Linked DNA regions of Homo sapiens: regions 2, 3, 4, 5, 6 and 7 are each linked to region 1. Evidence: promoter capture Hi-C in 16 types of primary human blood cells and fetal thymus (Javierre and others, 2016). All regions are on one chromosome and are shown on one strand. The core of a region is centred on a gene start or on the middle of the fragment in contact, and the rest is flanking DNA. Distances in the headings are between cores, read along the strand shown.

Region 1 (3,515 bases), core at 445-2,944:
GAATCCTGTCAGCTAGGTACAGTCAATCCCTAAGAATTGGTTCCAAAATGACAGCCCCTCTCTCTCACTCAGATACCAAAATCCACAGATGCTCAAGTCCCTTATATGAAATGGTGTCATATTTGCATATAACCTCCCCACATACTTAAAAGTTATCTCTAGATTACTTATATAACCTAACACAATGCAAATGCTATGTGAATAGTTGTTATACTGTACTGTTTAGGGAATAATGACAAGAACAAAAAAAAGTCTGTGCAACCATCCACTTTTTTTCCTCTGAAATATTTTCAGTCCCTTGATTGAGTCCACGGATACAGAGGATGCACTGATAACTGTATTATTTCTTCCAACTTGCATAAGAAGAACTGAAACTTAAAGAGGTGGTACCAACCTGCTCAGAGTCACACAATTCTGGCTTTTTGTGATATAAATACACGCTTTTAGGCAATATACTAGTGGCCTCCAAACGTTTTGTACTTGCACCCATTAAGCAAAAGAAATTTGAAATACATGTTCCAACATAAAATTAATACCCTATGTTTCACGTAGAAATCAAATGAAATAAATCTAAATAGAAGTTCTAATATGTTCCCTCTCTACCCACACACCCATGGAACAAACTGCATGCCACTGTATATACTATTGTACATGTTAAAAGATCACACTGCAACCATATAAAAGTCAGGAGATTTGGGTTTTTCTTTTTTCCTTTGAATATATATTACTGAGAAGTTTGCCTTTAAAACACTGGCTTTTAATCTACTACTCGTGACATATGCAGAGTAATAAGCGCTCACAAAACTTCTGTCTTGAGGGCTCAAACACCAAATGATTGCTCTAAGAATTTTCACAGTATTACCTCAAACCCTATTGGTTCTACAACCTTTCTCTACCCTAGAGTCCTGTTTTCCGCAATTCCCAATTGGGATTCTTCTCCGGTTCATTTCTGTAAGAAATGAGGGCAGAGAAATGCCATCAGTAAACCTTTGAACACATGTTAATTTTTCTAGGTAATACAATTTGCATTTTCGTAAAACTGGGCTTTAATGACAAATCCGATTTCAGTGATCTTTGCATACACCCTTTAAACACACCAGTTGCCGCCTGCGAGATATCATCAGACTCATGCTAAGAGCCACTCCCTACCCCAGCTTTCCCCAGACCTCTCCCCGCTTTACAGTTATTCGCCACAGCCCGGGAGAGTCTGGGGACGGCCGCCTGGGAGGGGACGGCCGCCTGGGAGGGGACGGCCCGGAGCAGACGCCAGGTTTCCCGCGGCTCAGGAGACCGGTGCCGCCTCGGAGAGCGCGCGAAGGTGCCGCCGGCCGCCCGACCCGCCCGAGGAACGGACATCTCCCGCCCGGGCCCGCAAGGACGACCATGAACACCGCCGCAGCTCAGCTGACCCTGCCTCTCCCGGGTGGCTGGGGGTCGCCAGCCAAGGGGGCAGCGGGCGGAGGATGAACCCCGGAGCAAGGGAAAGCGACAGCGCGCGCCTTCACCCTACCGCCAACAAGTCGAAGTCTCCCAAAGGAACCTGATCGGCGGGGCTGCCGTGGTACGACCGGCCGCTAAGGCCACCCTGCGGGCGTCTCGACCTCGGCTGACCGCCGCTGGCCCCCTGGGAACCGCGTGCCGGCCGCAGGAGAAGGTAGATTCCCGGGAGCCCCGGCGCCCACCGCGGTACTAACCGCGCCTGCGCCCCGCCCTCCCTCCCTTCGGGCTCCGCCCGCGCCTGCGCAGTTGCGGGGTTTCGCGCCGCCGGAGTCTGAGAGGCCGGAAGTGCCCCTTAGCGGGTGGGGGAAGCTGGTAGGCACGGGCGGCTCCGCAGTGACCGGACTCGGGGGAGGTGAGTGATTTGCCTAAGTAAAAGGGAAAGATAATTGAGCGCCCCCGGCAGCTGGTCTACGCATGCGTCCGCTAGGCCGGCTGGGAGCCGGCAAGGGAAAGCCGAGCGGGCCCCATTGGGGGAAAGGGGTCAGTCACTTCCCGGAAGAGGCGGGGCCGCGCGGGCCCGGCGCTGGATTCGAAACGCTTCCTGGTGCTCCTGGGCCTGGCGGTTGAGCCCGGGGAGCTAGTCTTTGCTTGGGTAAAGAAAGAGGACTTTCCTTTTTTTTTTTCCTTTTGAGAAAATTCAGAAATTTGGAGGCACAGTAGTTAGGATTCAGGCCAAACTGGTAAATGACGAAGGGGCTTCTTCCAGAGCCAAGGAGGAAGGGTTGTCCGGGTAAGTCCCGCGGGACGTGGAGAGACGGCGCCGCCCGGGTCCTCCCACTGATTCCTTTGACCATCTGGCTTACGGACGAGCTCTTTGTTCGCTGCTCCTCCGAAAACGCCTTCAATGACTCCCTTTGAATAAAGTAGGAAGTCCGAACCGAGCCGCCAGGCCGCGACTTGGCCCCTGTTTTCCACTCGCGAGGGCCCTGCGTCACCCCGCCTCGGGAAAGCTGCGCGTTCTCCGGCCGCTTGCGCTTGGCCGAAGCTGCTGGGTCCCGCTGTGCTTCCCCCGGGCATGCGATGGGGATAATTCCCACGCCTCGCTCAAAGCCATCCCGGGAGAGCCCTCCCTGGTCCCCATAGGCACAGTTGGGTGTTCCCTTTTCCGTGTTAACCTTGTATTTCGGATATAGTTCTGTTATAGTAATTACTTTAAGGTATTGTAGTTATTTACAATCAGTCTTTCCCCCACGGTAACCTAGAGTGTAAACCCCCTAAATAAACGTCAGAAGTAATGAAGTCTTAACTTCCTTGGCTTAGGTTTCAGCGCCCTTCTCAACCCCACACTCCCGCTTCAGTCTTTACACAACCCTTCCCATGAATATGCTGACCTAACAAGTAACCTACTTTTCATACTCCAAAATCTTCTCTTCTGTGTGGGGAAAATAATGCATTGACTGCCACCTCACTCCACCTCCAAATAAATTGATGTTGAAATTCTGGCCTCCGGTAATGGAATTCTTTACATCAAAGTCACTTTTTATTTCTAAAAGTAATCACATATATATTATATTCCTACTGTGGCCCTTGCCATGGATCAACGAAAAATATGACATAGTCAAAATAGACCAAAACATCTGGCCTTGTTGTAACCAATGGGAAACACGGTTGGGAGGTCCCTACTTACATGTCACTTGCTTCAGGAACCGTTCCTTGATTCCTAAGTGGGGGACCTTTTTTCCTAAATACAACTATAGCTTGCTTTCTTACCTCTTAAGCCCTTTTTATCTGCAGTCTCACTTACCCTACTAAGGTCTTTAAATGCAGGGCTTGATCTTCCATTATTGTATCTCCAGCACCTATAAAGCTTTCCTGTTAAATAGTAGACATTTAATAAGTATTTATTGATAAACGTGAAGTATGCCTCAACGTTTAGGCTAAATTCATATGAAAATAAAATTGAAAAAATAATTTTAAAGAACAGCATTAGTTACTGAGATTATGTGGTAAATCCCTTAAAATATAATCTTGCATTGAAATAGTTTTCACCATTTACCAGTCTTTATATGAATATA
Region 2 (3,515 bases), core at 714-3,213, 2.3 Mb after region 1:
ATTACTAAATGAAGGGAATGACATGCCAAAAACATTTAGGAGTTCTATTTTCCCTTCTTAAATATTTTTATTACATGAAGGATTTCTAAAAATCTCACACCTATAGTCCCAGCTACTTGGGAGGCTGAGGTGGGAAGGATCGCCTGAGCTCTGGAGACCAGCCTAGGCAACAATACTAAGTCTGTCTCTTAAAAAACAAAAGAACTCTTCACTTTTCTTCTCTTCCATGGATAAGTCACACGCTCATCCACTATTATCTTCTTTTAGTACTAGAGACACTTCAAGTTTAATTTCACTGTGGGTCATACCACTAAATATTAAACAAAATAAATCGTAGGGCCAATCAGAAGGACCAAGAAACAGTGAAATAAATTTCAATGCTACTTCATTAAAAGCTTTTTCCAAATCTTCTTTGAGTTAATTATATTCCATTAGATCACATCATTTCATTAGAACCCCAACTTACATCTTAAAGTATTACACTGGAAAACCCATCCTTGTGACTTAAAAAAATTTTTTTTGTAGAGATGGAGTCTCACTATGTTGTCCAGTCTGGTCTTGAACTCCTGGCCTCAAGTGATCCTACTGCATTGGCCTCCTAAAGTGCTAGGATGACAGGCACGAGCCACCGCTCCTGGCATCCTTTGATCTTAAAGATATTCACCAACGAACGCCTACCTTGTGCTCACATGTAAGCCCTGGCAACTTATCTCTGATTAAAGTTGATATTTCTAAATTACATGTTTAGCTTTTCAAAAAATACATAAAATTAACTGTAATCTTACAATACAAAATTTCTCTGAAAATATCCAACTATGTACTAACTATTACAAATATTTATTCCTGATTCACTTTTTCCTTTCACTGTATTCAGGAAAGAAAGTTAATAAAAATGTAATTTAAAAAGAATGATTAAGCTGGGGACAGTGGTGTGTGCCTGTAGTCCCAGCTGGTCAGGTGCCTGAGGTGGGAGGATTGTTTGAGCCCAGTTCAAGGCTGCAGTGTGCTATAATCATGCCATTGCACACCAGCACAGGCAACATAGCAAGACCCCATCTCTTTAAAAAAAAAAAAAAAAGATTAAATTATTAACTTCTAAACTTGGCAATATGGAGAGGTATAGAATGCAGCAATATTTTAGCAGCATGGGCTGCGGATTCACCACTCAATGTGTTAACAGTACTGTAAATTTAATCAGTCAAATCAGGTGGTGTGCATTGTTTTTGAAAGCTTCTACATCTTATGTAAGTGTGTACAATAAGAAATCTGTTAGATTTGACTTGTTACAAAATAACTGTATCAGATCCATGGAAGCACAGGGCCTGAAGAGAGGAATTCTTTGTTTTCTTCTTTCACTGCCACACCTATTCCAGAAGATTCTCTGGAGACTTTAAAAAAAAAATCATTTTTCAGTTTTCCCACAGTAATTTGCCCAGAGCCAGTATCTACTGAGATAATAATTAAAACAGTGTGTCTGGTTTAAGGAGGCATCCAGATAAGGGCTTCCCATGCAGAGAAAGCACCCACAGGAGGGTCAATCTACAGAACTAAGCAAAGCCTGTTATCTGATAAAGATCAAAATTGACTATCTTTAAAACGTTTTTTAGCCATAAAAAAGGATTAGTTCATGTCCTTTGCAGGGACATGGATGAAGCTGGAAACCATCATTCTCAGCAAACTATTACAAGGACAGAAAACCAAACACCGCATGTTCTCACTCATAGGTGGGAACTGAACAATGAGAACACTTGGACACAGGGTGGGGAACATCACACACCTACACCAGGGCCTGTCAGCGGGTGGCGGGCTGGGGGAGGGATAGCATTAGGAGAAATAACTAATGTAAATGATGAGTTGATGGGTGCAGCAAACCAACATGGCACATGTATACCTATGCAACAAACCTGCACGCTGTGGACATGTACCCTAGAACTTACAGTATAATTTAAAAAAAAAAAGTTTTTTGTTGTTGTTTACTGTTACATGCAGATACAACTGAGTATTCACAATATTTTTTGGAGGAGACATTCATTCAACAAATGTGTAATGAACACCTCAAATGTTTTAATTAATAAGTTAGCCATCACACACATTTTATTTTGAGACAGGGTCTCATTCTGTCACCCAGGATGGAGAGTAGTTACTGCGATCTAGGCTCACTGCAACCTCTGCCTCCCCGGCTCAAGTGATCCTCCCACTTCAGCCTCCCCTGTAGCTGGGACTACAGGCATGCACCACCACACCATGCCCCGCTAATATATATATGTATGTATGTGTGTGTGTATATATATTTTTATATGTTTTATATATATTTATATATTATATATCTATATATAAATATATATTATATAAATATATATATAATATAATATATAAATATATATATAATATAATATATATTTTTTTTTGGTAGAGAGGGGGTTTCGTCATGTTGCTCAGGCTGGTCTCGAACTCCTGGGCAATCCACCTGCCTTGGCCTCCCAAAATGCTGGGATTACAGGCGTGAGCCACTGCCCTTATAAAGACATCACCCTCTTCCCTCCAGGAGAACATCTTGCTGTAGAGAGAAAAATAAGAGAAAAGGACAATCCTACCAATGTGTACTGAGTACTATTTAATAAGTACATACAAGAAGGATCCAGAAACTTTTGCAGGTGCACCGTGAGAAAAACAGATCCCCCTGGCTAGGAAGTAAAGAAAGCTTGGCTGGGCATGGTAGCTCACGCCTGTAATCCCAGCACTTTGGGAGGCCAAGGCAGGCAGATCATGAGGTCAGGAGATCGAGACAATCCCGGCCAACACGGTGAAACCCCGTCTCTACTAAAATACAAAAAATTAGCCCGACATGGTGGCGGGTGCCTGTAGTCCCAGCTATTTGGGAGGCTGGGGCAGAGGAATCGCTTGAACCTGGGAGGCGGAGGTTGCAGTGAGCCGAGATCGCACCACTGCACTCCAGCCTGGTGACAGAGCAAGACTCTGTCTCAAAAAAGAAAAAAAAAAAAAAAGGCCGGGCGCGGTGGCTCACGCCTGTAATCCCAGCACTTTGGGAGGCCGAGGCGGGTGGATCATGAGGTCAGGAGATCGAGACCATCCTGGCTAACAAGGTGAAACCCCGTCTCTACTAAAAATACAAAAAATTAGCCGGGCGCGGTGGCGGGCGCCTGTAGTCCCAGCTACTCGGGAGGCTGAGGCAGGAGAATGGCGTGAACCCGGGAAGCGGAGCTTGCAGTGAGCCGAGATTGCGCCACTGCGGTCCGCAGTCCGGCCTGGGCGACAGAGCGAGACTCCGTCTCAAAAAAAAAAAAAAAGGAAAGTTTTACCACGAAAACATGTGAGCTAACCATTAAATTATCTGGACTTGGCAAAATGTTGTTAATGGTTGAAGCTGGGTGATGAATAAATGGGAGGTTTTCGTACTACTTCACTACTTTTGTATGTATGAAAATTTCCTTAATAAAATTTTTAGAAAGTGACTTGGGAGGACAGCAACATTTCAGGGAGAAGGAATAGCATAT
Region 3 (3,515 bases), core at 366-2,865, 2.3 Mb after region 1:
TCTCAGCCTCCCAAAATGTGGGAATTATAGGCATGAGCTACTGCACTCAGCCTGGACCTCTTTCTTAGTAGCCTTTTCTCCTACGATTTTATTTAAAACTTACAAAGTATGGAAATAAGCTGATTTATCTATCATTTCACTTTTCTCCCTAAGCTCCTTTTCAGGGAAAACTGCTGATGAACACCAGTAAACCAGCCAAAAGGCAGTTAGGTAAAAAGGGGTCAGAGAGTCAAAGCACAAGGCCAGTCCAAAACCTGGAGCATAGGTTCCCAAGTATTTGATTCAGTCACGGCCCCCTACACAGGCCTCACCTGAACACGTTTTCTTGTCGGCATTCAAGGTGTATCCTTGGCTACACTCACAGTGGTGCTTGCCTTCCCCATCACTGATGCAGACGTGCTGGCACTGGTGTGTTCCAAGCACACAGGGGTCCAGCGCTGTGAGAGGAAGTTTACAACAGTCAGCACTGACACTTAGGAAACATCTCAGATACCGTCTCCCATGTCAATAGACATTGCTCTCTGGGCTCCTTTCCGAGTCCATCTTTACTTCACTATAAAAAAATGGTTATTTGTTTTCTGCCTCTGGCTTATTAGCAATGCTACTCTTAAACTAGAAATTGTTGCTAATTTAAAAGTACACATCTTGCTATATAGACTTTCTCAAGGGAGAAAGGGAATTTGGAGTTTGGAGCTGAAGCCAAACACTTACATAGGCCAGGCAATTGGATGTTTTATTTGGCTTATCCGCCTCCCCATGAAAAAAAGATTTGTGCTTCCCCACCACAAGAAATGGGAGAACAATAAATGCACAGCCTGAAGTGACGTGAGCTAGTTGTCCCATTGTAGCCAGAATCTGATTTCCAAGGTTCTATAGCCTATGTCTAAACAGAATTCTCACACAAGTCTGGGTCTAAGCCTAGAACGAACTCACAGGTGGGCAGTGGTACATATTTGAACATGCAAATGGTAGAGGACAGTTCGGGTAACTGTCTTCTGAATATGTAAGGTGGGTGAAGTCATCCATACGCTAAATCCATAGTGAACTCATATGCTAATACAAACAGGTAAAAAGAAAAGAACAAAATAAATGAGATTACATTAGCTAAACTACATCTCCATCTTATTGCTCCTGGAGCCATTTATATCTCATTGGATATTTTTTTCCTAGTGACCTCTTTTGAAAGATGAATCAATGAATTAAGTCATTTCTGAGAAACCAAGGAGGCCTGTTGAAGGAGGCTGGCCCTCCTGTGGCAGGTAACCCAACCTCCACTGCCCTTGGCAACAGGACAAGGCTAATATTTTCCCAAGAAGGGCCTTTTCATGGAATGATCTTTCCAACCCGTTGACTACAACAAGCTGCCGCTCAGTCTTTTTTCCATAGAGAGGACGTTTTTCCCCCAGAACAAGCAGGTCTTTTGTACCAGAAGGAAAAGATTGCCACTCACCACTTGTTACTTTATAGCCTTCGAAGCCCAACCCCAGGTGCTAGCTTTGAAACCCAACTTTGCCACAGACCAGCATGTTGATGGAGAGGCTCTCACCCACAAGCATGGAGTGGGAGGGTGATTTCCTGGGAGAAAGAAAGCCACTTTCTTTTTGGAAGCCAACGAATGCCAAGTAGATGCCACCAAAGCCAGTGATGGCTTGTGAAAGCCCAGTGTCCTGGGACAGGAAAGACAAGGGGATCCCAGCCAAGTCTGACTGCAATGAGGCCAAACGTTGCCCCAGAGCAAGACTTCATCTCCCTTTTCCTGACAAACCATTGATGGCTGCGTTTCACATTAACCTAGATTAAAAGTCTCCTTGAAATGTATAATTGTAATTAATTATTGGTTCATTTGTTTGTCTCACCCCCACCCCCAGAATGTTACTTAATGGTATGGAGGGATTACCTTTATCTTTGTATCATCAGAGATCAATAAATGCATGCTGAATAAATAAGTGTGAAATAAATTATATTGCAAAAAGATATCTATGTTTAAAAATTCACCTGAACTAGAAATTTGTCCACAACTGCTTGGATATTCACATAGAGGGAACAAAAGATTATCTCCAGATGATAAAAAAATAAAGCATGAGTCCCACAGATCATAATTCTGATCAGTGACTAAAATTAAACTCCAGCATTGAATGGATCTGTAGTCCTAGATTTGGTCAATTCATGCTAAAAATTCCAATAAAATTAGCATGTCCTTATTCAAATTCCATCCTAAAGGATGGAAGGAGTAGCAGAGTTAACAGAATGATTTCTTAAGATCATCTTGCTTTCTTTCAAGTGAGCTGAAACCCTAATCTGCCTGGTCCCTGAATCCTGTTCTTCAACAAAGAGTAATCAGATAAACAGCCCAGTCTGAAAACCAGAGCATTCACTAAATGCACACTCGGGCTGACGGTGACATTGGAATAGAGGCCTGCTGACTCTCCCAAGGACAGACGCTTCTCCCTGTCTTCTGCAGGAGAACAAACAGAGTTCTGTTAGATCTAGAGATGGTAAAACTAAAAAAATATGTATCAGGGGAAAAAAATGTAGTGGTGGGGCAGAGGGGACAGGAGAGGCATCTTGAGTTTTGTTTTTCCTGACCCTGACAGGGAACAGCAGGGTCATTTATCCTGGATATTTGCAGACCTTCACAGTTCTAACGCAAACATGAAGATTTTATGAGCAAACCAAGTTCCATATAATGCAGCTCTATATTCCTAAACCAATAGAGTGTGTTTAGGTTGGTCGCACACACGCGCGCATGCACACGTGCACACACACACACGCATTGGATATATTTAAGTTTTTCATTAAATTTCCACCAAAAAAGAATAATACTCTTTTCTCTGGGTACACAATGTCTGAATATAACATCCTTTCTAGTTGGAAGCAAAGACTGACCAACTTACCACAGAAGGTTTCCTGGAATCTAGAGGAAAGTTTCTCAATGACCCCATAGGTCTCCACGTAGAAAACATGCTCCTCTAGGGGCTCACTGGCCATCATCTTGAGGGACGCCATGTCTGCCCGGTCCACGCCCACAGCATAGAGCTCAATACCAGATGCTTGGGCCCGAGCCGCCACCTCATTCACCTGGTCCTGGGGCCTCCCATCTGTAACAATGATGGCCACCTTAGGGATGTTAGAAGAGGGCTCTCGAGCCCCTGCCTCCACTGTGAAGGCTTCGTCCATTGCTGTCTGGATGGCTAGGCCTGACATGGTGCCTGTTGACAAGGGTGTGATTCGACCCACGGCCTGCTTCAGGGACTGCTTATCTGTGTAGGCCTGGAGTTGGAACTCGATCTTCACAGTGCTAGCATAGTTCACCACTGCCACCCGCGTGTCGGCTGGCCCAATGTCCAGAGTGTCGATTATCCGGGAGACAAAAGTTTTCACTTTGGTGAATTCCAGGGGCCGTACGCTACGAGAACTATCAATGATAAACACCAGGTCCAAGGGTCTGCTCTTGCAAACACCTGCAAAAGACCAAGCAATGATCAGACCACAATTAGAAATGCAGTAATCCTCAC
Region 4 (3,515 bases), core at 640-3,139, 2.2 Mb after region 1:
ATTTCTGAAAATAACTAAACTGTGTCTCAGAGGCTAAATAACTTCTCTACGTCAAACTACACTGTGGAAAATGAATTCAATACCAGATCAACTTGACTACAAACCCTATGCTCTGTTATCTCCTACCATGGCTAAGACCACAGTGCAAAACCCAGGAGCCCCTGGCCCTCAGAATTTAAAAGCAAATTCTTCTCTGAGGTTTTCTTAAGTTTAAATCATTAAGTTTAAATTGTTAGATAACTTCCATCCAGGTTATCTTTCCTACCTTAACAATAACACAGATCCAAATAATTCCCCATATATTCACTCACTCAGAAAATACTGACTACTATGACCTGAGGAACTATGCTAGATACTTTTAGTTACAGCTAAACCAAACCCCACTTACAGTTTTCCGTTTAACACTTAACACATTGTTTTGCAAGACAAACAAACAGACTTTAGAACCCATGTTTTTCTACCTGGGGAAGGCTGAACTAACAAAAATAAGCAGATAAAACATTATGATAAATAAGTAAATGGCAACCAACAAAAATAACCAATAAAGAACAAGAATTAAGAAGGAGGCTATAAATATAGAAATAATTAGAATGCAGATTTTTAATTATTTAGGAACCTTGAAAACTATGCTTTTTTTTTTCCTTCACTTTTACATCTACGAGAAATATTGTCGTTTGACAATGTATAGAGAGCATCTACGTTCTACAGTATATTCTACTGGGTAACTTTGAGATACTGATTCAAAAGCATCAGAAGACATCATTTCTTGCCCTAAAAGAAATTATTAAAATATATAAAAATAACATTAAAACAACTGGTATAGGCTTTTATGCAGCCAAAAATATATATCACTGTAGTCTATGGCGAATTTATAAAAGCCAACAGGGTATTCAAAAGGGACAAAATATAGTACTGGGTTAGAAAATAAGACATTCAAAAAACGTATTAAGCTTAGTTATTAATAAGCTCTCACTTTCTAAATTCTTTAAAATTCACAATATATTAATTCTCCTACTTGACATTTTCCAATGCTACTTCTGAAAATTCTTTTAAAATTAAATTTATTAAAAATACTATTGAGAAGGATAATACTCATATGTACATTTATGAAAACAATGCTTTTATTTTAATGTAGCATCACCTAAGATTAATTATTAAATTTTCTTCAAATAACTGATTACTTTGCAACAAATTAAAAGTATTAGAAGTTTGAAGGAAGGACAGACAGATATGTATGTTTAACATCTAAACACATTTAAAATATCACATTAAAAATCAGAAAAATTAATCTGAAACAACTATATTATACTAAATACTACTCAAAAGCTGGCTATGAAAAGAGACACATATTCAGATCACAGAGAAAATATTCAAAATAACTACTCCATGGTGATTTCTTATGTTAAACTTCTGGTTTTCTGAATGTATAAAATTGTAATTTTTATTTTATAATTATAAAACTATAAGATTATAAAATTCCATGATAAAATACAACAAAGATTTATACTATGAAGATGAAATGTCCCTAAAAGAAAATGTGATAAGTTTACACCGTTTCCTTTGTTATTTTTTCCTCTACCTTACTCACTGCACATTTAAATAGAAAGAAAGAAGATCAATTTGAATGCATTTACCTCACCAAACGGAGTGTAAAACTGCACAATGTTCACATCTTTGTCCTGCATGGCTGCCTTCTGGAAGCCTGCCACAGCTAACACGCTGCCCATGTGGTTCCACTGGATGCCTACTACGTACATGCCAGTGTCAATCAAAACGGGATCTAGTCAGAAAGAGAAAAATGAGGTCACTGTGGGAAAATACGTAGCCTAGAGAACTTTATAATCTTAAGAACAACTTTTAAACATTTTTAAAACTTTCCACATTTTTAAAAAAACAGGGCTGGGTACAACGGCTCACGCCTATAATCCCAACACTTTAGGAGGCTGAGGCGGGCGGATCACTTGAGTCCAGGAGTTCAAGATCGGCCTGGGCAACATGGTGAAACCCTGTCTCTACGAAAAATACAAAAATTAGCTGGAGGAGTTGGTGCACACCTGTGGTCCCAGCTCCTCAGGAGGCTGAGACCTTGAGCCTGGGAGGCCAAGGCTGCAGTGAGCCAAGAACGCACCACTGCACTCCAGCCTCGGCAACAGAGCAAGACCCTGTCGCAAAAAAAAAAAAGTTAAAAATTAGAAATTGAGGCCGGGCACAGTGGCTCACGCCTGTAATCCCAGCACTTTGGGAGGCTGAGGCAGGTGGATCACGAGGTCAGGAGATAGAGACTATCCTGGCTAACAGGGTGAAACCCCGTCTCTACGAAAAATATAAAAAATTAGCCAGGCATAGTGGCACGCCCTGTAGTCCCAGCTACTCGGGAGGCTGAGGCAGGAAATTCGCTTGAACCCGGGAGGCAGAAGTTGCCGTGAGCCAAGATCGTGCCACTGCACTCCAGCCTGGGCGACAGAGTGAGACTCCATCTCAAAAAGAAAAAAAAAAAAATAGAAATTAAAAAAATTTTTTAAACAGAAAAATTCCTTACTTTGGTCATTCTCATGTCTCATTATTTGGCATCTTCCATTATCAAAGCAAACAGCAAGGCAAGGGCAATCAGGCTCCACGTAGCCTTCTGTGCCATGGTACCAATGAATTCCAGCAATGCTGATAGCTCCAGTGACATTCACCAAACAACTCAGTTTCATTTTTATCTAAATAAAATTGGTTAGGTTTAATATTTTACATTTTAAAACACAGCAGTATAGAGACAATACTCAATAGAGTATTGTAGAAAGAACACTGAAAAATACAGTCTAAAAATCAGGTGGCAAATTAAAGCTTAATCACTTACTGGTATACAGGCCATGGACAAATCACCTAAATGTCCATTTTCCCCACATGTAAAAAATGAGGATTAAAAAACACTGAGTTTTTATGAGACTCAAACAACAAGTATATAAAAGTACTTTGAAAACAGCAAAATGACATAAAAGTTCATTATTTTACTTCCACCAGTGAGTGGATTTACTTAATGTCCTAACCCTTGCTAAAAAACAAAACTGCCCCACCAGTAATCATACATCTATGATAGCTAAACCTTGCAAAGCCAGAATTTTTCTCCAGATTATGCTGCCTGATCCTATTCTATTTTACCTTCTTTCCAGGGATTGATTTTTCTCACTTACCATTTAAGTCTGTCATTCTTTTTACAAACAACCATTGGTAGCTTGCTACAAAAATACCCTGTGGTATCTACATGTAAACTTTGGCTTCAGACACCAGAAGACACCTATAAAACTTAAACTGCACATCGCCCTACTCATTATCTCTCTGCTTAAATGCACTGACACCTCGTCCTTTCTACCTACCAAAAAAAATTGGAACTAAAAGCTACACTCGAACTTGTTGCACTAATTTGCCTTGAGAAAACCAAAATTTTATTTAATTAAAACAAAATTTAGACGATTGGGAAAAAGAAAAAAAATCTGAATTGAAGACTTTAATTACACAAACCGCCATAA
Region 5 (3,515 bases), core at 757-3,256, 2.2 Mb before region 1:
CATTGACTATCTGTTGTGTATCTATACAGACAATGCTACTAACAAAACATACACAGATACGTAATTGCTATATTAAATAATTCCATTCCATAAGTATAGACTGAACACACCGTGGGTAGGTTCATGACGCTAGGCACTGCATAAGATGCACTAAAGTGCTGTCAAGAAAAGCACAATGGACATACAGTAAGTGTAGACAGATTTTTTTAAAAAACACAGAAAAGTTATTTCACTCAATAAACATGAATTGATTGTTGGATTCATGCAAGACACAATTTGGCCCTGGGAAGAGATATAAAGATGAATCAGATGTCTGCCCTCCAAGAGCTTATAATTCAACAGCTGAAATCAACAGAATGCAGAAATCGATAGAATGCAGAAATCAATTGAACTCCCCCACCCCCAACACACAAACACAAAACAAAGTGCTAAGGGTTTCAAAGTAAGTTAATTCTGTGGTTACTTTTTTGGAATCAATTTATGGTAAGCATTCTGAAACATTACTGCAATTAACCAATGAGTGTTAAGGAGTGGAAACTTATCTAACCAGCTGCCTCAGCAACAGCTTCCTAGCTGCATAACCCAAAAAATATTCACATTAAGACAAACTAAGTACTTGAAATTAAACAGTAATATATGCAGATCTCTACCCGTCTACAAAATAAATTATTCATGATAAGCACAAACTGCAGTGGGAAGGAGGCTACAGAGGAAAAAAATACAAACTTTGGGCTGAAAAATGAGTCGTTTCTCCAGCAAAGAAACACTCAGAAAAAATGTAAGATAACTCACATGGGCTGGACTACATAATCTTTAATAAAGGTTCTTTTCGATCTGGCTGCTTCCTCTGGGTCTAAAACAGTAACTGGCACGTGTTAAGCACTCAATAAATATCTGTTAAATAAACATGGATCCAAAAAATAATAATAATAAAAAATAAAATAAAATAAACATGGATCCATGGTTCCTACTCTTCATCACAGACCCGGGAGGCCTTCACTACCAAACAACTGATAATCCCAAGATCCAGTCCATAAATTATCAACCTCTATAACCCTTCTGTAGCGGAGATCCCAATCCCAGTCAGCAGCTCTTTACTCTGCACTTCCGTGGCATTTTGCTCACATCGCTAACTATAGCGCATAAAACGCTAGGTTATGAAAAACGTTTACGGGACTGTCTCCCCTCTAGACGAGAAGCTCCACGAAAACATATTCATCTCTGTATCCTTAGCACCTAGCACAGCACCTGTGACACCGAGACAGACGAACGGACACGCACACCCTTATTAAATGCTCTTTTATTGAAACACACAAGACCTGGCGCGATCCAGCCCCCAGTATGGGTAAAGGCTCAGATTCTGCGCTCTGCACCAGCCTGGCAGATGCTGCAGACTGTAAGGTCCTGGAAAATTCTCCCATCGCAGTTGAGCGTCGGCCCAGACTAGCCCTAGCCAGACCGCGAGAAGGGACCACTGAGGGTCCAGATAGGAGAAAGGACCCTCGAGTCCAGCGCTGTGCCTTCCCCTCCTAATACAGAGAGCGACACTAACAATCCCCTCTCCTCCCAATACAGAGAGCGAAACTGAGAACCAAAGTGGGATCGTACGCTCCCCAGAGCACGAAGTTCCAGCCCCCAACAACCGAATTCTGAGCCCAGGAAGAATCTCAGGGACCACCACCCCACCCCGCCCTAGACCCCCGCTAGCCCAAGGTGCCGTTGCCAAGGCGACCGCACAAGCCAACCGGCCCTAGTCCCCCACCCACCCGTCTCCACTCCCCTACGTGGCTCCTGCTACGTGGCTCTACCCACGAAGCGCCCGCGCCAAGCTGGCTGCTGCTGTAGATGGGCCTGGTTCACCTGTACTTCAGTCTCCGGTGGCCACTCGGTGTTGACCAACAAGTCATAGAGAATCGTCTCCTCCTCACCCTCTGCAGTGCCTGGACTCAAAGCCGGCCCTGACTCGGGGGCCGCCATGTTCGCCGAGGACTCAGGCAGCGGAGGAGTGTCTCTACGGAATCCCTCACAGGACAAGCTTCTCTATCCGCGGCCGCTTTTGTTTCACGGCAAGGAAATGCTAGGTTAACCCTTTTATGAGTAGGAAGGACAGGGACTATTGCTTGTCTTGGGAACGACTTGTGTCCCGGTCCTGATACACTCCTTGTTCATTAATCTACATGAGATCGGCCAAGTCATTGAGCCTCTCTTATAACTCAGTTTCCATAAAACAGAAATGGTAAAGGTACCCCACTGAAATGCTAATGTTCATTTGTATATTCTTTGCCTAACACGTAGAGAGAGTTCAAACAGTGGTTTTAAAATAAACAACTAAAGTTATCCAATGAAAGGTAGCAGAGGAAGGATGCTACAGGAGCTCAGAAAAGGCAACGAAGGCCAGAGTCTGCAGGGATTTCCTGGAGGACGTGGAGCTTGTCCCTGCGTCTTTAACAATAGGCAGAATTTTAATCTACTGGAGAAGCATTTCAAGTAGCGGGAAATGGAATGAGCAGAGACAGAGGCAGAAATACAGAGTTGAAAGAACTCTTTCAACGTGTCGCCAGTGAGTGACGACTTTCTCAGTGTGGGAGTAAAAGAATTTACCAAGACAGTGGTAGATAAAGAAAGACAGATTAAAGAAAGTATGAAAGTTCGTTGCCAGGGAGCAGCGGGCCGACTCAGCAGAGGAGGAGCTCATTGCTAGGAAACAAAGGCTTGTTGAGAATTTTATAGACTGGAACTTGGAGTGATTGATAACACCAGGTAGCAGGGAGTTAACTTGCTTTTTTTTTTTCTTTCTTTCTTTTTTTTTTTTTTTTTTTGTCAGCTGAAGTGTTTCAGAAATTGAGGCATTTGAAGGTAAGCAGGAAGTTTGTGAGTTAAGTACGTTATCTGGGTAGAAGGGCCATATGTCCTGGGCCATAAAGAAAAGTAGACCTATGGCTTATTTGTTTCTTCCTTTTGTTTATATGTTTTGGACCATGAAGAAAGACAGACGTATAGCTAATTTGCCTTATCTCTTTGTTTTTCCCTGCTCCCACTAGCCTGCCTTTTTTTTTTTCCTAATTAGTACTCAACAAGACGGGTGAATAGAACCCAAGTTGAGAAAGGGTGTAGGGGCAATAAAGTTGAAATAATAGGTTGAGAACCCGCATGGAGGGAGCGAAAAGGTCAACCCCATTTGTTCATTCATTCATTCATTCAACAAATACCTCTTTGTGGACAGTTATAAGCAGAGCCTACTGTAACATGAATGAATATATACTGTACAAAGTATTACACTGTTTCACATCAAAAGAAACACAAATACTGAATATCCCTTGAGATAATTATATTCATGATATCCATCAAGATGCATTAGGCGGTGATGCAATTAAAAGCCTCTGCTGGGAAGCCTCTAACCAGCTCCCATTTCTCTCAAAGTTTAATGACCTCAAAGCCCTACGTCATCTGCCTGCTCCCCTAAATCTCACACCTCATTTCCTGCTCCCCCTACTACCTTCAGCCACACTGGCTCT
Region 6 (3,515 bases), core at 749-3,248, 2.2 Mb after region 1:
AGGACATAAAAACATTACAAAACCCAGGATTCAGGTGTTGCGGTCTTTCCACTCCACTGGCACGTTACACTAACAGTGTTAATCTATCATTGCTTTCTCCTTGTTCCTCACTGTGTATTGCAAATTGGTTCAATAAACCAATGTATTTTGAGAATTTTTATTTGGTTTATAAGGCTTTCTGTTCCATGACCTCTGGAATAGCTTGCGAGGCAGTCTATTTAGAGGCTACCATTGTACCAAGGTAATTTTCCACGAGGCGCATGAATAGAGACAGAGACCTCAAAGACTTCTGGTCTTCTCTTTTTATTTAGGCCAATGAGCCCACTCTCTATCCTAAGCTCATCTAGGCTCTAAATCTCTTCTCATAGCTCACTATTCCCAATCTGCAACATGCTGAACTTGTCTCTGTCTCTACAAGACAAAAACATATGAGATTGAGAAAGTGTATTGTAGCTGCAAAAACAAAGTTGCGTATCTCTATGTATTGCCTCTACTATATGTAAGCCAAACCTCAATAAAATAATCTTGATGAAATAGTGCAAAGGTCTGGTCTTTAGCCACAAAATGGGAATTCATGAGAAATAAACAGAGAACATTATTAGCTATGTAAAAGACATAAGAAATGATCCATTATGGATCACAACTGTTTATCTTTCAAATTAATAATAAATGAAAACAGACGCATATCAAGAAAAAATCACTCCCTCAACAATACTTGTGTAAATAAACGGTCCAACTTAGTGACAATGTTTCAACAGAAGCTATAACTACAAAATGGATATTTCTGTTTAAGTTATCTTCATTATAAATAGAGGCAAGTTTTCTGCACAATCATATGAAAGTGTAAATTCCAAATGCCATCTCTTAAATGAGACTAAAAGGACAGGTTTTAAAATAGAAGAATAGGGCTATTAGAAACAATTCAGATTGTAAAAAATGTCTTAAAATGCCATCGCCTCACTTCTGAAAATACAATAAAGAAGACATTCGACACTTATTTAATTAAATATGGCTATAGAGAAAGCTCATTTCATTATTACAATTGTTTAACTTCCTTGTAACATGGGTTATAAAAATTCTCTAAATTCAACTTTGCCCCACTCCCATGCTTCCCCCACTCCCTACTCCCTTCAAGATTTTTTAATGAATTCAGTTACCTTGACACTGTGAGAAAAAAATTTATTTGGAATATTTCCATGGTATCATGTAACCAAAAACAAGATAAACAAAAGAGAGAGGGTGAGAGAAAACATGGTTGATTTTCATACATTTATATGAAAATCGGCCTTATTATTTCACAGTTGTATTGCCATAAAAATTATTTTATTAACATATATTTTGTGCAAAAATTCAACTATAAATAATGAGGCTGATTTTCATACAAAACTCACAGAAATAAACCTTATTACATATACAGCATATAGCCATGTATATATGCTACATATATTTTACAGTTATATACAGTTTATCATTCCTTTATCCCACTGGACTATGGCATAAGGGGCAGAAGCTGTAGTGGCTTATTTCCTGAGCAAGGACACCGTGTTTGCATACACTGCACATCCAGAATTGATACTCAGTGATTGGGCTTCCTGTGGCAACGCATGTTGGCAGTTTCCCTTCTCCACTGTAAAACGGGGAGAAACAATTCATTATACTTTAAAACTTCTCATTAGTCTAACTTTATTTAATACACTTAAAAAAAACCTAAAGAATAAAACTTCTGAGATGAACATCAAATACTTTCATTTAAAAAAGTTATTTCAAGAAAAAACCTTTCTTACAATGACAAAATAAAGCATGAATACACTTGTAAAAATAAATAAAATAGGGTATAATGTTAATGTGAATTGCTTCAAAATTCAGTGCTTTAATTCCTACATTAAACATTGTACATCTAGAAATCCAAGCTTCTAATAAGATAGAATGGCATCCACTAATTAAAATTAGCCTACCCTTCCATAAGGCTGTCCAATTCAGGTTTTCTGTTATCTTTTGAAGTATGTTTGGTGAAGATTTCTAAAGCAAGGTCTTCATACTGCTGTTTCTGTTCTGAACTGAGGGTCTCTAAAGATTTAAGTTTAATGAAAGCTTTTGAACAAGTCCCAAAGGCTCTGCTGGCGCATGCGCAGAGTGCTAGCAGAGAGTAGATCTCCACAGGAGGGATGATGTCTTCATAGTCTTTCAGGTGAAGAGCTAAGAAAAACAGGGCAATTGGGGTTTTTTAAAATAATTATTATGATATCATGAACATGCAAAAGAAGAATCTAAGTTAAGGTGATTTCATTGAACTTGCATGAACGAACTGAAAGCAAACAGTGTTGAGAGATGGGAGCACCAAGAGGAGGAACTAGGCTACATGATATCCAAGGTTCTGTGAAGCTGGCTAACAGCTCATCCTATGAAAAGAACCACCACCAAATGCTGCACATGGCTGTGCCAGCTCAGAAATACACACACACACACAAAATTTTGGTGTCAAAACATCCACATTTTCTTCAATTTATGTTAGAAATTTCTGTGGCACTTCATAAAAAGCAAATGAGTATTATACTATGTTAGTCATAAACTGCAAGATAATACCATGTTTCCTTTTGTTAAAAAAAAAGCAAAACAATATAAGCAAAACAGTATAAAATAATATGTTCTTTTCTCTGTGTTTCTTTGGACAGATTATTGCTTTTGTATTACTGCTTTTGTCATTTGTCTCACTGAAACAATAGGATTTTGTGAAAAAGTGAAAATGAGTCTCCAAGTTGTCAGTTGAGACAATTCAAGTTACAACATCTTATTTGCAATTATACTGGAGATGAAAAAATCTTTCTTTAAAATGCACTGTATTCTTGGGCCTGTTGGGGGTGGGGGGCTAGGGGAGGGATAGCATTAGGAGAAATACCTAATGTAGATGACGGTTGATGGGTGCAGCAAACCACCATGGCACATGTATACCTATGTAACAAGCCTGCACGTTCTGTACATGTACCCCAGAACTTAAAGTATAATAAAAAAAGCAGACTTAATATTAGATTTAATATTAAGATTTAATATTAGATTTATAACCAATTTGTATCTTTTTCTTCTCTAGACCTTGGAATCTTAAAAATACTTTGTTATAGTATATCAAAAACTTCATAAAACCAGTTTAAACAATATATTCATGTGTTTTACAATCAGAATCCTATAAACTGGTTCTGGGGTCAAGTATTTACAACAAAGTGTAGTAGAAAAAATGTATATAAAATGTAATCACTCAGTTACAATAAACAATATCCTCTAATTTCATATCCAAAGCATGATAGGTTCAAGGGTAATAATTTACAGGTCATACATTGTTTCAGATCGTCTTACCACTGACAAAAAAAAAAAAAATGAGGCATATAGAGATCTTCACCTAGTAGGTGAAGCATCTCAAGTTAAAGATCTAATTGTTCTTTTAAGTCTAGAAATGGTGTATAAATTGAATATGATACAGCTATTTTAAACAGTGTATAATTTATGTCACATATTAGTTAAAA
Region 7 (3,515 bases), core at 723-3,222, 2.2 Mb before region 1:
CTGACCCCCTAAATTATGAGCAAATATATTGGCTGTTGTAGTATGCCTCTAAGTTTTGGTGTAGTTGTTCACAGCAACAGATAGCCAAAACTAAAAAGGGAAAGCCATTCTAGGGAGAGGGAACAGCATTTTAAAAACTACAGTGGTGACAGGCAATGTGGCATATGCAAGGATTTCTACACAGTTTGATATGCTAGAAAGTAAAATTTGTGGAGAGTGGCAGGTAATAAGGCTGGAAGTAAGCAGGAGGCTGGACATGGAGGACCATCCTATGGAGGGTGGATTCAGGAGCCTTACCAACTAAGAGCTGTGTTGAAGGGGAGAGAGTTTGTTAATGGAAAGACTGACCATAGCAAGATTCAAGATCCAGTGCAAGTACTCCTGAGTCGTTTTTTCCCTCCTAACAGGTAGATCTGGGGCAACCTACACGGACAGCATTTATGGAGGGGGAAGGTTACTGTTACTTGTGTGAAATGATGGGTAGGTTTGTATTCTATATTGTGAGGAAGGACTTTGTGAGGGAGGGGGTTTATGGATGACGATATTGTATTTTCTACTCAACTTCTTTTAGATTAAAACAAATTCTCTCTCTAGCTGCTTCCTCCTTCTTGGTGGTGAGATCCTCAGAAACTAAGCAGCTGGCTTTATCTTGTTCCAGAAGGACCTGGGAATAGGAACTGAGGAGGAGGGTGGATGTCAATGAAAGGACAAACTAAACAACCTAATTTGACTTGTGTTCCCTAGGCTGGGTTCAGAGTCACATCCTCTACTGTATATGTCACATTTCACCTTCATTTTCATTGTGAGGAAATGGCCATATATTCAGGGATAATTTTGGATGTTTCCCTCACAACTCAGGCCAAATGTCTCCTCCGCCTTTTAGCCAGAATAGCTTGATTATTGCTGTATTATGAAACATTCAAAAAATGTTCCTGAAAGATACATTACACAATATCCATAATGATGTGTGTTTTATTTCCTTTCTTTTCTGTACCTCTTAGCAAAGTGTTGGGCTGCAGAAAAAAGAAATTTTAAAGTGGCTTAACTGGGACATTCTCAAGCTGCAAGAGAGGTCTAGAGGTAGACAGACCTGGGCTTACCATCATTAAGGATCCAGCCTTTTATTTCTGCTTCAGTAGTCTTAGTGTGCGGCTTTTATCTTCGGGACTCATTGCTGACTTTCCAGGCATCATATCAATGTTCCAAAGGAAAAACGGTGCATGCCAGACAGATCTTTCCCTTTTGAAAAGCATTCCTGGAAGTCCCAACCTGGCACTGCCAGTTATATCTCTCCAGGCAGAGCTGAGTCTCTGGGCTGTCTCTCTACAAAGGAATCTGGAAAGGTGATTGTTTTCTTCTTCTTCCAAGTTTCCATTTTTTTTTTCTTTTTGAGAAGAGTGTGGCTGTGTCACCCAGACTAGAGTGCAGTGGTGTGATCACGGCTCACTGCATCCTCGACCTCTTGGGCTCAAAAATGATCCTTCATCATGACATCAGGAGATCAAGACCATCCTGGCTAACACGGTGAAATCCCGTCTCTACTAAAAATACAAAAAAATTAGCCCGGCATGGTGGCGGACGCCTGTAGTCCCAGCTACTCAGGAGGCTGAGGCAGGAGAATGGCGTGAACCCAGGAGGCGGAGCTTGCAGTGAGCCGAGATCACGCTGCTGTACTCTACTGTACTCTAGCCTGGATGACAGAGTGAGACTCCATCTCAAAAAAAAAAAAAAGATCCTCCCCCGGCCAGCTTCCCAAATAGGTGGACTGCAGGTGCGTGCCACCATGCTTGGTTAATTTTTTAAAGTTTTGTTAGAGAAAGGGACTCTATGTTGCCCAGGATGGTCTCAAACTCTTGGGCTTAAGTCATACTCCCACCTTGGCCTCCGAAAGTGGTGGAATTAAAGGCATAAGCCACTACGTCCAGCCTTTTTCAGATTTCTATAATAAAGAAAGGCAATGGGAAAGGGGACTACTATTGTTTGAATGTTCCCTCCAAACTTCACATTGCCAATGTAATTTTAAGAGGGGGGCCTTTAAGAGGTGATTGGCCCATGAAGGTTCTGCTCTCATGAATGGGATTGAAGCCCTTGTAAAAGAAGTTTCATGGAGCATTTGGTCTCTTGCCCTTGTACCTCCTGCCATGTAAGGACATAGAGCTCCTCCCTGCTGGAGGACATGGTGTTCAAGGCACCACCTTAAAAGCAGAAACCAAACCCTCACCAGACTATAAACTTACTGGCACCTTAATCTTGGACTTCCCAACCTCCAGAACTGGCAGAAATAATTTCTGTTCCTTATAAATTAGCCATTCTCAGGTATTTTGCTATAGCAGCACAAATGAGCTAACCTAGGAACTGTGTATGGCTTTTGGGTGGTCCATCTACAGAGGCCTTCCCAGGACCCATCCTCTCTACACTTTCCCAGATACCTGAAGGCATTTTTTTTCAGGTCTGCCTTAGTAGTTGCAAAACCATTTGCTCTACAGTGGGATATAATTATAATATAGCTTACTTGAAAATACATAGCATAATATCTTGGGCCCATGGATAACATAGTAAAACTTCCCTATCACATGATTAGTGGGGCCCAAACTACCCAATTACAGAAAATGTGGGGTTATTCTGAGGTTAAAAAAAAAATACTGGGGGCAAGCCCAGGCTGAGGGGTGTGTGTGTGTGTGTTTGAGACAGAGTCTTGCTCTGTCGCCTAGGCTGGAGTGCAGTGGCATGATCTCGGCTCACTTCAACCTCCGCCTCCTGGGTTCAAGTGATTCTCCTGCCTCAGCCTCCCAAGTAGCTGGGATTACAGGCGCCCGCCACCAAGCACGGCTAATTTTTTGTATTTTTAGTAGAGACAGGGTTTCACCATGTTGGCCAGGCTGGTCTTGAACTCCTGACCTCAGGTAATCCACCCACCTCGGTCTCCCAAAGTGCTGGGATTACAGGCATGAGACACCACGCTCAGCCATATGTGTTTTTTAATTATAATTTTTTAAACAGCTTTATTAAGGTATAATTTAAATACCATAAAATTCACTAATGTACAATTCAATGATTCACAGAGCTGTGCAACCAGCACCACAATCCAGTTGTTGAAGACTTCCATCACCCGCCTTAAATGTCGCACGTCCATTTGTATAAATGGAGACAGATGAACAAAAGCCTACGCTGGGAGTTTTTAGGGTCCAGTCCAATCTCTTCTCAGTTTGGCTACAGTTTGGTGCCACCTGGTGGTGTCTGTCCTGGTTTCTGGGACCAGGCCAGGGTTTCTAGGAATCTCCCAGTTAGTAGGCAACCATTAAATCAACCTATTCTTGGGGAGACTAGACCAGCAAAATACCAGACTGAAAGGCACCCATCCTCTATCTTTTGGTTTGGTGAAGGGCCTGGCTGCTGTTTCTCTGCCTGGTGTTATTCTACCTGCCAAGGAGAGGAGCCAATCATACCCCAATTCACATATCCCAATTTGCATTACTGAGGGCACTGCAACACATACATACAAATATCTATAATTA

What was found. Contacts are between HindIII fragments. The CHiCAGO score rates a contact against its expected background, and 5 or more counts as called.
Region 2: a fragment that was not itself captured here is called in contact with the fragment with the promoter of SMC6 in region 1 in 2 of 17 cell types (neutrophils and total CD8 T cells); the score reaches 12.3 in neutrophils.
Region 3: a contact is called between a fragment that was not itself captured here and the fragment with the promoter of SMC6 in region 1, in 2 of 17 cell types (neutrophils and activated CD4 T cells). The highest score is 8.1, in neutrophils.
Region 4: a fragment that was not itself captured here is called in contact with the fragment with the promoter of SMC6 in region 1 in 5 of 17 cell types (neutrophils, activated CD4 T cells, total CD4 T cells and 2 more); the score reaches 7.6 in neutrophils.
Region 5: a contact is called between the fragment with the promoter of NBAS here and the fragment with the promoter of SMC6 in region 1, in 4 of 17 cell types (naive CD8 T cells, monocytes, M2 macrophages and 1 more). The highest score is 11.2, in naive CD8 T cells.
Region 6: a fragment that was not itself captured here is called in contact with the fragment with the promoter of SMC6 in region 1 in 6 of 17 cell types (naive CD8 T cells, total CD8 T cells, activated CD4 T cells and 3 more); the score reaches 10.3 in naive CD8 T cells.
Region 7: a fragment that was not itself captured here is called in contact with the fragment with the promoter of SMC6 in region 1 in 5 of 17 cell types (total B cells, naive CD8 T cells, non-activated CD4 T cells and 2 more); the score reaches 14.6 in total B cells.

Annotation. Positions count from the first base shown.
Region 1 is chr2:17,752,116-17,755,630 of GRCh38, forward strand. SMC6 (structural maintenance of chromosomes 6) reads right to left here and starts at 1,695. Exons shown (of 28, transcript NM_001142286.2): 1 at 1,511-1,695; 2 at 863-949. It overlaps GEN1 (GEN1 Holliday junction 5' flap endonuclease), which reads left to right and starts at 2,023. Exons shown (of 14, transcript NM_001130009.3): 1 at 2,023-2,230. RefSeq lists silencers at 1,171-1,530, 1,671-1,810. The HindIII fragment of the contact is 9,742 bases long and covers 1-3,305 here.
Region 2 is chr2:20,044,404-20,047,918 of GRCh38, forward strand. All of the region lies in intron 1 of LAPTM4A (lysosomal protein transmembrane 4 alpha), which reads right to left. Among named protein-coding and RNA genes, the nearest start is that of LAPTM4A, 5.5 kb to the right of the region's middle. The HindIII fragment of the contact is 1,471 bases long and covers 1,229-2,699 here.
Region 3 is chr2:20,002,850-20,006,364 of GRCh38, forward strand. It overlaps MATN3 (matrilin 3), which reads right to left. Exons shown (of 8, transcript NM_002381.5): 2 at 2,895-3,461; 3 at 312-437. WDR35-DT (WDR35 divergent transcript) reads left to right here. Exons shown (of 3, transcript NR_110235.1): 3 at 1,171-1,957. Among named protein-coding and RNA genes, the nearest start is that of MATN3, 8.1 kb to the right of the region's middle. The HindIII fragment of the contact is 4,251 bases long and covers 1-3,515 here.
Region 4 is chr2:19,971,929-19,975,443 of GRCh38, forward strand. WDR35 (WD repeat domain 35) reads right to left here. Exons shown (of 27, transcript NM_020779.4): 7 at 2,540-2,705; 8 at 1,635-1,780. Among named protein-coding and RNA genes, the nearest start is that of WDR35, 16 kb to the right of the region's middle. The HindIII fragment of the contact is 1,882 bases long and covers 949-2,830 here.
Region 5 is chr2:15,559,328-15,562,842 of GRCh38, forward strand. It overlaps NBAS (NBAS subunit of NRZ tethering complex), which reads right to left and starts at 2,007. Exons shown (of 52, transcript NM_015909.4): 1 at 1,861-2,007. The coding sequence starts at 1,977. LOC105373440 (a long non-coding RNA gene) reads left to right here and starts at 2,821. Exons shown (of 4, transcript XR_001739297.2): 1 at 2,821-2,856. RefSeq lists an enhancer at 1,797-2,206. The HindIII fragment of the contact is 4,253 bases long and covers 1-2,033 here.
Region 6 is chr2:19,912,082-19,915,596 of GRCh38, forward strand. It overlaps WDR35 (WD repeat domain 35), which reads right to left. Exons shown (of 27, transcript NM_020779.4): 26 at 1,956-2,196; 27 at 1-1,627. The coding sequence ends at 1,477. Among named protein-coding and RNA genes, the nearest start is that of TTC32, 12 kb to the left of the region's middle. The HindIII fragment of the contact is 181 bases long and covers 1,909-2,089 here.
Region 7 is chr2:15,585,297-15,588,811 of GRCh38, forward strand. It overlaps LOC124905975 (a long non-coding RNA gene), which reads right to left. Exons shown (of 2, transcript XR_007086224.1): 2 at 2,973-3,515. Among named protein-coding and RNA genes, the nearest start is that of DDX1, 4.8 kb to the right of the region's middle. The HindIII fragment of the contact is 6,453 bases long and covers 1-3,515 here.